Linked DNA regions of Homo sapiens: region 1 is linked to region 2. Evidence: promoter capture Hi-C in 16 types of primary human blood cells and fetal thymus (Javierre and others, 2016). All regions are on one chromosome and are shown on one strand. Each heading gives the region's core, a stretch centred on a gene start or on the middle of the fragment in contact. The rest is flanking DNA. Distances are from core to core; before and after follow the strand shown.

Region 1 (5,902 bases), core at 132-2,631, 390 kb after region 2:
CCTCTCTTCCTGAACACCAGAAGTGGTGGGCACCTGAGTGGGAAATTTCAGGCAACTTAATTTAGTTCCTCAGTGCCTACTCTTGAAGAACTGGGTTTTCATTCTAGAGAGGAAACTCAGGGAAGGGCGTGTTGCCTATCACAGGTTCGCATACTAAGTTTTAAAAACTTTTCTTGGTGTGACTTATGCCAAGGAATTATGAAGACTTTTTCCTTGAGCATTGCATGAAGGCTACAAAGTTGGAACAGGCATGTCCTGGGTGTGAAAGTTTTAATTTCCCTACCTCATTTATTTATTTAATTTAGAGATGGGGGTCTCACTATGTTGCCCATCCCGGCTTCCAACTCCTGGGCTCAAGCAATCCTCCCACGTCAGTCTCTCAAATAGCTGGGACTACAGGCCCACGCCACCATGCCCTACTTCCTCATTTATTTTAAATTTTTTGTACCACAGTCTCTCTTTTTAATTTTATGACTGCTGAATTAATCCTAGACTCTGTCTTAAAACTAAGAATTGATGTATTGGCAGGAACAGCTGGACATTCAAGATGTTTTTGTGATTCCTTTTTTAAAAATCTCCTTTTGTACCTGTAATATCTACAATATATAATCTTTCTTTATCGACTTAAGGAGGAAGGAGAAAGGAAGAACCTGACTTCTGTGTGAAGGACCTTACTGTCGATCAAGACTGTTACTCAAAGTTCTATCTCTTAGTCATTGCACCTGACCTGATCCAAAACATATATATATATTTGTATGCACCCCTAGAGACAGCTGTATATATATACGGTTTTGCCAGGTTGTACGTTTTTTTCTCGAGTTGTAAGTGAACACAGTAGCACTCGTTTACATTGTCAAGGGGACATCTTTAGAGAACACATTTTCTCACTGTTGAGCTAATAATGCTTTGTGAATGTATGATCTAAGGAGAAACCCTTGTAGTTATACCCGATGATGCTGTCTGTTGGAAAGTAAATTTTGAATGTCTTTTTCCAAAAATAAAAAATAAAAACATGCTTTCAATAAGTTCTTTCCCCCCTCTGGCGAGGGCTACTAAATTTGCTCAGCATTTAATACGTAAAATTGGCTAACAGTGTCTGCACAGCCAGAGAGAAGTTGTCTAGCAAATCGGGTCAATGACACACAGGAAACAAACATCAAGAAAGGGGTCCTAGATTGGTCCAGTCAGGTAGGCGTTAGGTGACCAAGGGGGTCGGGGACCCAGAGGATAGGACCCAAAGACGCAAGCGTCGCGCGCCCAAGGCTCAGCGCGCCTGCGCAGGGTAGCGGCCGTTCAGCCAGCGGCTCGGGGGCGGAAGCACTGGAGCCCCGAGTCACGTGGCTGCGGGCGGAGATGAGCGGGGCGTGGGACGTGCTGCGGCGTCCTAGCTGGCTTACAGGGCGGCGGCGGGGTGTGTGTCCTCTGTTAAGAGTGCTACTCGCCCGGGGTTGATCTGTGCATGCCACTCCTGGGTCAGACGGTGAGGTCGGCGTCTGCGAGGACGCGGCGGTGGAGTAGAAGGGCAGCCGGAGACAGGCCCGGCGCCCCTTCCGAGGCTAGACGGCCCCAGCTTCGCGGGGATCATGGCATTGCTGGTGGACCGAGTGCGGGGCCACTGGCGAATCGCCGCCGGGCTCCTGTTCAACCTGCTGGTGTCCATCTGCATTGTGTTCCTCAACAAATGGATTTATGTGTACCACGGCTTCCCCAACATGAGCCTGACCCTGGTGCACTTCGTGGTCACCTGGCTGGGCTTGTATATCTGCCAGAAGCTGGACATCTTTGCCCCCAAAAGTCTGCCGCCCTCCAGGCTCCTCCTCCTGGCCCTCAGCTTCTGTGGCTTTGTGGTCTTCACTAACCTTTCTCTGCAGAACAACACCATAGGCACCTATCAGCTGGCCAAGGCCATGACCACGCCGGTGATCATAGCCATCCAGACCTTCTGCTACCAGAAAACCTTCTCCACCAGAATCCAGCTCACGCTGGTGAGTAGCTTCAGCTTCCCAAGGCGCCGCTCTCCCGACCCACCTCCTGCACTGGCCCCGGGAAATTCGAACGCACACTGGTCTTTCCCTTCATCTTGAAATCCACAAATGAGTCATCTGTGGGCATGTGAACTTTTAGGCTTATTTTAGGGAGGGGGAAAAGGCCATCTTGTCAGCCCAGAAGAGTGGGCATGTGTGAATTTTAGTAGCTGCCATTTGATGGAAATCGTTAAATGCTGTGATCGATAAGAAAAAAAGCTGTATTGGGTGGTACAGTCCAGTGTTATCAGAATATCTGCAAAAGCTCAAACAAAAACAGCCTTTCTCCCCCAGGGGAATCAAATCGTGTATGATAAAACGTGAAAAGATGTAGCATAAAGTAGGTCTCAAAACGTCTGCAGCACCATACTTTAGAGCTGTCTGCATCTTTAAATAAAAGGAGGTGGACTCAATTTTAGCACTTAGTAACTTATTTAAGGTCTTTTTCTTTTTTTTTTTTTTCTTTTTGAGACGGAATTTCACTCTTGTTGCCCAGGCTGGAGTGCAATGGCACGATCTCGGCTCACCGCAACCTCCGCCTCCCGGGTTTAAGCGATTCTCCTGCCTCAGCCTCCCGAGTAGCTGGGATTACAGGCATGCGCCACCACGCCCGGCTAATTTTGTATTTTTAGTAAAGACGGGGTTTCTCCATGTTAATCAGGCTGGTCTCGAACTCTGACCTCAGGTGATCTGCCCGCCTTGGCCTCCGAAAGCGCTGGGGTTACAGTGGTGAGCCACCGTGCCTGGCCTTATATTTAAGGTCTTTATGCTTTTATTGTTTTATATTTATGCTTATGCTGTTTAGACACTAGTTTGGGGATCCATTTACTCACCTTTGTATTCATGTGGTATTTTCTTGCAAAGTGCAATATATTTACCACAAATTTAGAATGGAATTAAATGTGAATATCAATATAGATTTGTCATATTTCACGTTTAGGAAATAGGATTAACAACTAGTTTTCCCAAGTCAAAACAGAAAACATTTATACAGGTTCATTGTTTCCCAGTTATGTGTTTATCATTAGCCTTGTAAGACATTGTGAAAGGAATACTAAATTTTTGTCTCTTGAATTTAATCTGAACAACATTTACCTCTTTTTCGTTACAGATTCCTATAACTTTAGGTGTAATCCTAAATTCTTATTACGATGTGAAGTTTAATTTCCTTGGAATGGTGTTTGCTGCTCTTGGTGTTTTAGTTACATCCCTTTATCAAGTGGTTGGTAATTTTTTTTTCTTTATGTGCCTTTTTAGCAGATTTCATAAATTTTGAAGCTGTATTCCAAGGTTTAGAAAATACAGTATAGAGACAATAGACTGTTGGGAAGAAAGCATAATTGCATAAGTTGTCTGACTCAAGGTGAAGAGAAGAAAGGAGACAGAGAAACTTGGGTGTGTGATGCTCACCAAATACCTACCTGTTTGTAAGTGTATAATATCCATGCTTAACAGTCTCAGCTTGGGGTGAAGTTATTTTCTGGGAAATCTTTACAAAATACCTAGTAAGACTTTTTACTTCCTAAGTTTGTTATGTTTTCTGTTTACTCTTTACTTTTAACATTGTTGTGAAGGAGTGAGTATACTTCCAGAAATCTGAACAGTAATGAAAAATTTCAGATTTTTAGATGTTTTTGCCTCAAAAATTATACTGCTGTTACAACTTGTTTATTGGCTTTTAATAATGTGTCTAATATAGATTATTACAATATTATACTCTATATTAATAAATATAGAGTAATTTATATTAATGAATATTTTTCCATTTGTGCAAGCGCAGTGCCTTGCCTATAGCAGATATTCATTAAAAATATGTTCATGGATTCACTTACTTCATTACCATAAAATCCTAACAAGTATGGTTTTTGATTCTTATTTAGTGGAGAAAAAATAACTTGCTGTAGGGGACAGTGAAACGGTATTCTCTCTATACTGAAAACCTTGGTCTGGAAATTCTGGGTGTGCCTGCATGGGGAATCAAAGCCAAAATGTGTAACCAATTTTATTTTTTTCACAAACATCCACTGGTTATTAAACTAAGGCATTCTTGTTTGAAATTTTAGGAGTTCAGTAATAGAGCCCTGGCATCTTAAACATTCTAGTAGTGATCATGTCAGAGACAGTATTTGAAAATATTCTGCAGTGAAATACATTTTCTAGTGGCAGAGAAGCAGTTTAAATAAAAGAAGAGGCTAGTGAACATTCCTATTCATCTTTCTTGTTAAATGCACTTGTTTTTGCCTAGTATAGGCAATTTATTAAACAGAGCAAGTAATTGTACTCCTTATACGTAATAGATTCAGAGTACTCACCATCTCTGTCACTATGACCATTTTTGTTCACACAAGTCTCAAAATTGCTATAGATTAGAATCAAAGGATTCTATATCCCTAAGGTAGATATTTGACATGAGATTGACCAAGGAATGATTGTAGATTAATGGACAGTTTCTTATCAGTAAGTGGTAAAGGTACCATTACAAAATAGGTATATTCCCAAAACATTCCTCTTAAAGAAAGTTGTATCTGCCCACAGTATCTTGGGATAATTTCTATGTTGTTTCTCTTATACTGCTGGAGACATTAAAAGGAGTTAAAAGACAAGTGACCAGCTATTAGCTTGAGTTGTAGAAAGATGGTTGACTCATTCATTCGTTCAGCAGACATCTTTTCTGCATTATGTTCACCCTTGAGGATACAAAGATGAAAAGCAGCTACAGTCCAGCAGTGTAGAAACACAAAGAGACAGCTGGTCACAGTAGCATATGTACCCCAAGGTAGGAGGAAAATTCTGAGGAACACCAAGGAGGAAGTGGCAGCTCTTAAAGAGGGGCGGTGAGGTAAGACTTTACGGAAAAGTTAACAATTTAAATTGAAGGGCACACAGAAATGAGCTCAGCAGGGAAGGACAGCTGGTCTTTTCCTTGCAGTGTGTGTGAAAGTCTGGAGCATTTTTGGAGAACTTGATTTGTTTGGTGAGGCTAGGCAGTAGGTGCATTGTGAGAAGACAAGGCTGAGGAGTGGGTGATACCAGATGTCAGGGTCGTGAAGCCATGCTAAGGAAGTATATCTTTATTGAGCACGCACCAGGAGAGGAGTTCAGACAGGGACTGACTTGATCATTCCCCTGTCTTTAGAAAAGTAACTGATGGCAATGAAGGGTGGGTAAGAGGGAAGGAAGGGTAAAAGGCAGAGCAGTCAGGAACCTACCTGTACTTCACAGGACAGGCAGGAAGGGCCTGGGCTAGGGCGGTGGGAATGGACAGGGAAAGGTTAAAAGGCACTCCAGGGGCGTTTTGGGGAACATAGGAGAACCTGACTGAATGTGAGAGAGAGGAAAGTAAGGCTCTGATCCCTGAGGGAGATTATATCATCAATTATTGGAAACACACAAGAGGAGCCCATTTGTAGAAAAAAGGCACCAGTTGATTTTAAACAAGTTCCTGCAGATTATATAAGTAGAGATGGCCAGGAGACTGGCCAATATAAGGTTAAGGATGCTCAAGCGATGAGGGAAGAGCAGTAGATCTCAGCAAATAGTAAAAGACATCAGTCAGGGCGATGAAAGAGGAAGGCAGGCATCTGCCTTAAAAACTGTTAAGTGCAGGAGGCAGTGAGGGAGGAGTACAAACCAGAGGGTAGTTCTTCCAAGCAAAACTTGCAGGTTCTGCAAAGAGGGCTCGCAGGAAGGGCCACAGGGAGTCTGGACATGTCCATGGAGATCATAGTGCCCTTAGGAGAGCATTAGAGGGGTGGTGGCAGGAGCCAGGCTGTGCTGCATTGAGGGACAGTGGAGGCCTGAGAGCCCCTGCTGTTCCAGGCAGTCCTGTGGCGAAGACACGCGGCTGCCTGAAGAGGCTGCAAAAGGAAAGGCAGGTG
Region 2 (6,562 bases), core at 1,225-3,724:
ATTACCTGTCTGTCTTCCCCATGGGTTGCTTTTATTGCAACTGGCATTCTTTCAGGCTTTTTAATTTTTTTTCTGGGCTTTGTTTCACTTTACTCTTCTTCCCCCCTCTTCCCCCTACTTCATTCATCTGTTCCATTAACCCCCCTTCAAACACACCCTCAAAACCAGGGATGGGGCCTATGACTATATCACTATAAAATTCTTATTACTACTCATTCTTAGAATGATTAGGACACTCATTAACCTGGAGAGGAAATTCATATTACAGTTGAAGAAGTTTTGGAATCGGACAAGCTGGGTTCTAATCCTGCCTCTGACACCTGCCAGCAAAGTGACCTTAGACCAACTACTTCTCTGATCTTAGTTTTCTCCATCTGTAAAGTAAAATTATATTTGTATGTATTTCCCAGGGTTGCTGTGAGGATAAAATTGGATAATGTATATAGAGCATTTAGCAAGAGTTATTCCTGAGGCTATGAAAACGCAGGCTTCCCTATCTAGGTAGCTCTCCTTCCACTTTCTCATACCCTATTTTGCAATCCCCAACTTGACTCTAAAGCCTTTTAACACTAATCTCCTTTCAAGGGTCTCTCTCTGTTCCCATCTTGAAGACAAAGAGCAAGAATGCTCAGAAAAGCTATGTTCACATTCAGTATCTATTGGGACCTCAGGAAGTGGCTGAGGGACTATAAATCCAGAGAACAAAATTTTACTGTGTTTCCTCCTTCCAAACCATGTGATCTTGGGTAAGCTGCTTCTCAGATCCTCAAGTTTCTTCTGTAAAATGGCATCACAATGCCTACCTCATAGAAAATTTTTTTTTGAGACAAGTTTCGCTCGTTGCCTAGGCTGCAGTGCAATGGCACAATTTCAGCTCACTGCAACCTCTGTCTCCCAGGTTCAAGTGATTCTCCTGCCTCAGCCTCCCAAGTAGCTGGGATTACAGGCATGCACCAACACACCTGGCTAATTTTGTATTTTTAGTAGAGACGGGGGTTTTTCCATGTTAGTCAGGCTGGTCTTGAACTCCCAACCTCAGGTGATCTGCCTGCCTTGGCCTCCCAAAGTGCTGGGATTACAGGCATGAGCCACTGCTCCCGGCCTTTACAGAGATCTTATGAAAGTTAAAAGTACTTATGAATGTAAAAATGGCTTATACAGGAGCATAACACACAATCAATGTTCAATAAAGTGTGACCTGAACGTGACTGTGAATTAAAAATATTTCCTATCATTCTCACTTTCCTAGAATTTAACAGTAATGAAGTAAATTCTGGTATATCCTGTGATGCAGTTACTAAAATCCTAGAGTAGAACATTATTAACATGGGGAAAATGCTCATGATCTATTACTAAGTGAATAGTATTTTATATTATTTTTGTTTTTTAAAAAACACTCAACACATACACACACACACACAGACACAAAAAGGGTTTTTACCAAACTTTTCTGTACTAAGCATTTATCCTTTTCTATTTAGGGACAGAAAGTTAAAATAGAAATTTTAAAAGGAGCTATGGCAAAAAAAAAAAAAAAAGTATTGTATGGTGGGTCCATCAAGCATGACAATGGAAGGAAGGCACTAAAAGCAGTGGGGAGTGTGGAGAGGGTAAGGAGAAGCCAAGAGTGGGGGAAGGGAGAGGGAGAAAACAGGTCAGAGTGAGGACGAGGTAAGTCAGGGCTCAGAGTCAGAGGAGCCTTGTCTTCCATGCGTTTGTTGCTGGGATTGCCAAAATGCCTGCGGAGATACAGGGTCGCGTCTCAGCCATGCAGGCCACAAACATTCAAAGTTCACTGGGGGAACTGGGAGCCGGAGGAATTCTGAGCCCAGGGGGCTTTAGATGCCCTGATTTTTCTGTCTCAGATCCACAGAAAGGGTGATTTACTTGCCTGCTTACGCAAAAGCTAACAGATGACCTAGATGGCCTCCCATGTGGCTTTCAAGTCTAGGAGACTGATTTACTAGGGTTTTGATTTATTCTCCTCCAATGAGCAAGAAACCAAAAGCTATCACCGCTAGGTGGCATGCCCCAAATACTATTAAACTTTGAAACTGGCAGAAAAGTTGGTATCTCAGGGAATCACACACACTCTATAAGTCAAAAGCACTGCTAGAGGCAACAAGATGATCATAGAAGATTTTCAGTTTCTCACTGTTAAAAACAAAAATCATCAAGCAAAACCACTGTAACAATAACAAACACTCCTTTCCCAAATAATATATTAAATGCGTTTCTCATGGACACATCCTGGAATCCCCCTGGGAAACATGGCCCCCATACCCCTATCAGTGCCTATAACAATCTCCTCCTTTCCCAACCAAAATAAACAAGTGTCCCCTATCATATGCCAAAAGCAGAAGTAGGTCTCTGATGTCATCAAAGAATAATGTACAACCACAGATACAAGATTTGCATGAGCTGAAGTAGGACAAGAAATTCCCCACACAGGATCTATTATGGTCGAGAAAGGACAAGAATGGGACCCAGGCCAGAAAGAATATACTTCTTTTGACCTAATAATCTTCTCTTTCTAAATATCACTGCCACTGTCAGGATCTCTATATTAAGCTAGAGCTGTTAGTCATTTACACCTTAATGTGGATTACTTTTCTCTGCTGTCTTTTCTCCGGAACGTTACATGTCATTGGTTATTCTACAAGAATAAAATTTTAGTTGAATGGCTAAAAAGAGGAATGATTTTAGAGCACATGAAAGGAGTACCCAGAAAGGACAGGACAGGGTAGGGCCTTGAACTTGAGGACTCTGCATATGGCTGCAGAGGGTCACCAAGCTCTTGGCATTTTTGAATGAGGAGAGGAGAGTGTAGATGGAGAAATAATTAAAGGGAAGTGCTGAAAGAAAGGGATGTGGCAAGACACATTTTGCATAATTCATAGATTTGCCTAGGACTATCTGGATGCCTAGTGATGAAATGTGAAGAAATACAGACAATTTGGTATTTTCCAACTATGTAACTCTAACAGGAAATTCCCTGTATTGTCCTATATTTAAATAAATTAAATATATGAGATGTGACAATAAATACAAGGGCAGATTTTTTTAAGCAAACACACATGTATAGACACACAAATGAGTTATTATCCCTTTCAAAGTATTCACCCATTTTAATAATGCAAACCATTTTGGAAGCTCCTCTTTTAAAATTGACACATATCTTTTGAAAACCCAGTGCTAACACAACAGCATTCTTTCTGAAAGTGGATTTCATTTGTTGAAAGAGTCAAAAGTTGGCTGGGTGTAGTGGCTCACCCCTTTAATCCCAACACTATGGGAAGTAAAGGCAGGAGATAGCTCGAAGCCAGGAGTTCAAGATCAGCCTTGGCAACATAGCGAGACCCTATCTCCACAAAAAAAAAAAAAAAAAAAAAAAAAAGGCACTGGCCTGGTGCGGTGGCTCACACCTGTAATCCCAGCACTTTGGGAGGCTGAAGTGGAAGGATTGCTTGAAGCCAGAAGTTCAACACCAGCCTGGGCAATACAGTGGGACCCCATCTCAATAAAAAATATAAAATTTTGAAAAAGTCATTTGGAGCTAAATTTGGCAAACAGAAAGGATGATCAATAAGAATGTTCCATTTTTGGTCAAAACTGAAGCACGACTCAGAAGTATGTGCTCTAGTATCACACTGGGCCACAATCCTTCTTCCACCATTTTATTAGCTCTGTGAACATAAGCAAGTTATGAAATCATTATTTGCCTCGGTTCTCTCATCTATAAAATGCAAATGATAATAATACCTACCTGATAATGTTGCTACGAGATTAAATGACATAATGCATACAAAATACTTACATGGTACTGTAAGTATACGTGGTAAGTAAGTATACACGGTACTGTATAGGGGCAAATGCCAAATAAATAGTAATAATGTTAGTAGTGGCAACAGCAATAATAGTAGAAGTGGCAGCAGCCACAGTAATATGTGGCTTGTAAACCTAAGGAGGCAATTTTTAAAATATGTAGCCTCCCAACTAGCAACTTTCAATAACTGCACCAATTTGCATGTGTATTCTGACATATTTTTAATCTTGTTTTTTTGTTTCTTAACCCATTCTTATTTAAACTCAGATGGCACATATTTTCCAAAGAGTTCCCTCCAGTCAGTGAAGAATATTCAGAGAGGCAGCTTCTGTACCAGTGGTTTAAAATTATTGTACCAATACATTAGAATTCATGAAGATGCTCTATTATCTAGACATGTCAAATTATATGTCTTGTTAATTCACAATAAAGATGTATCAAGCAAATGCCGATCATTTTCTAAAAACTGCTAAAACAGATTAAATCAGTCACTGACTAAAATAGATCTACTCAATCAATATATAATTATTGACCATAAATTTTGGGCTGTATGGTCTGGTCTCTGGGGTAACAACCAGAGATATACGGATGAACCAAACAGATATAGCAGACCAACAGGAAGTTCTTGGATTCTCGAAACTACTTCCAGCTAAGGGACACACACACACAAATACATAGGGCACCTCTGGAAGAACACTCAATACACTAGCAATAGTGATTGTCTCTGGGGAGCAATTATTTAATACTACTTTGAACTGTTCAAGTTACCTTATGCATGCGTTACCTTTTCAAAAAGTAAATAGAAGTTAAAAATTTAAACTTTTATATACAACAAAAAATGGAGTAGTTTCTTCAAACCTGCTATGCTGATTCACATCTATTTTAATGATGTGAAATATCTGTGCTTACCTCTTCACTTAGAAAATTAAATCATTCACTACAATATAATACTGTTATTGATCCCAGTCCATTAATTACTCCTAATTTCCCTTGTAAGCACATAATAACAGCTGTGCAACCCATCAGTCCACATGCCACGGTGATGGCCTGTTGAAATGCTTTGCTAAAGAATTTGGTCATGGAGGGGTTATCAGGATATTGTCATCTTTCTGGGTAACCATTTCCAAAGCTGGTGAGCAGAGTCTAAAGCCAACTCAGCATAGCCATCCAGCATCCTCCTCATCCATCAGCTGCATGTCTTCCCAAGGTGCTAAGCAATGACCTTCCTCCATGAACACTGAGGCTCATTTTCTTCTTTGAGGCTCATTGCTATGTTCTCAACTCCAGAGAGTAGTATGTCCTTCAGGTTTAAACTTGCCAAAAAAAAATCCATAAATCAATCAGCAAACATTTATAAATCATCTCCCACATTCAAGGTACTGTGATGGATGTTTCAGGGATGTCAAGAAATATAAAATGTGGTTTCTAAACTCTAAGAGTTTATTGTCTAGTTAGAGAACTAAAACACATAAAAATTCAAAACATGGAACCATACAAGTAGAATACTAAAAGTACCAAATTAAGAGGTTAAGGGGGAAGAGGCAATAATATTTATCAAATGGCTGTGCACTGTGCTAGGTGCTTCACATGTCCATTTCACTTAATCATCCTTCCAGTTCCACTTTGAATTCCATTTTATAGACTTGGAGGTGAAGAAAGTTGCCTAAAATCACACAGATGATCATGGCAGGGCTTGCGTTTAAATTAAAGTAAGCCTGATTCCAAGGCCCTGCTCTTCTGACTCAAGCTTTGTCTTCCCAATATATACCACGATCCCCGTAGAAAATAAGTGCTCTAAGGATTAATTGAAACAAGTTATCACTTTGAATGGTAGCATAAGGCATCATGAACAGGATGTGAAATTTGAGAAAAGCTTTTAAACAGGTTAAAAACCCAAGGATGAGTAGAATGTTATAAGGTAAAAGGAAGGAAGAAAAATCTATTTCCATCTGTAAGAAAGTGCCTGTACTACAGTGTAGAGATGGAAGAGCCCAAGCTGGTGAGACGACCATTCTGTGTTGTGCCTGATCTGGTTACCTGCTCATCTCAGTACAGGTATACAGCATGGTCCTGGAAGTGCAGAGGTGCTTTAGGGACCAGCCAACCCATGAATAAGTGGGCTCTTCTTGGGAGGCAGTATTCCTGCACATACAATAGGAAAGGCATGGGCCAAACATCTCCAAGCCTTATATCTTCTCAGGGATTCTTGGTGTATGTCAGTGGCCCATCATACAAGACCAACAATTTTACTTAATTATAGGTAATGAATATATTAAAATGAACATATAGATATTTTGGAGTAGAATCCAGCATTAACATGGATTTTGTTAGTACAAGGTATTAATGTAATGCCATGCTTGTAATGGGCCCCATGAGCTCTGGCCCAGACGGCTGGGATTCATAGTTTGTACTCCTCTCCCATTAGGGGTTTCTCAGGGTGAGGACTGAGAGGTGCTGATATGGAGGAGACACACATGTGGCATAGCACATGATATTGTGGAGGCAAAAAGAGAGGAAAAGAGGGTCTATAATGGCCCTCCAGATCTCCATGTTCTGATGTCTGTTGTCATCCATACTCTCGTGTTGTTTGTTTCTTGCCTTGACTAATGAATAAAGTTCTCATTAGGAACACTCCATGCGTTACTAGGTCCTCATAGTCATCTTCGGCTTTGCACTTTGTCTCATATCCCACATCTGATCCATCAGCAAATCCTGTTGTCTCTACCTTGTAAGTGT

Evidence for each region. The method cuts DNA at HindIII sites, captures the fragments that hold promoters and counts their contacts. A CHiCAGO score of 5 or more calls a contact.
Region 1: a contact is called between the fragment with the promoter of SLC35E3 here and a fragment that was not itself captured in region 2, in 11 of 17 cell types (naive CD4 T cells, fetal thymus, non-activated CD4 T cells and 8 more). The highest score is 9.1, in naive CD4 T cells.

The regions. Positions count from the first base shown.
Region 1 is chr12:68,744,795-68,750,696 of GRCh38, forward strand. It overlaps SLC35E3 (solute carrier family 35 member E3), which reads left to right and starts at 1,382. Exons shown (of 5, transcript NM_018656.5): 1 at 1,382-1,985; 2 at 3,136-3,246. The coding sequence starts at 1,584. NUP107 (nucleoporin 107) reads left to right here. Exons shown (of 28, transcript NM_020401.4): 28 at 1-1,015. RefSeq lists enhancers at 1,055-1,745, 1,595-1,694, 1,745-1,854, 2,215-2,404. The HindIII fragment of the contact is 13,773 bases long and covers 1-5,902 here.
Region 2 is chr12:68,356,998-68,363,559 of GRCh38, forward strand. No RefSeq gene overlaps it. Among named protein-coding and RNA genes, the nearest start is that of MDM1, 28 kb to the left of the region's middle. RefSeq lists an enhancer at 1,267-1,778. The HindIII fragment of the contact is 6,194 bases long and covers 1-5,571 here.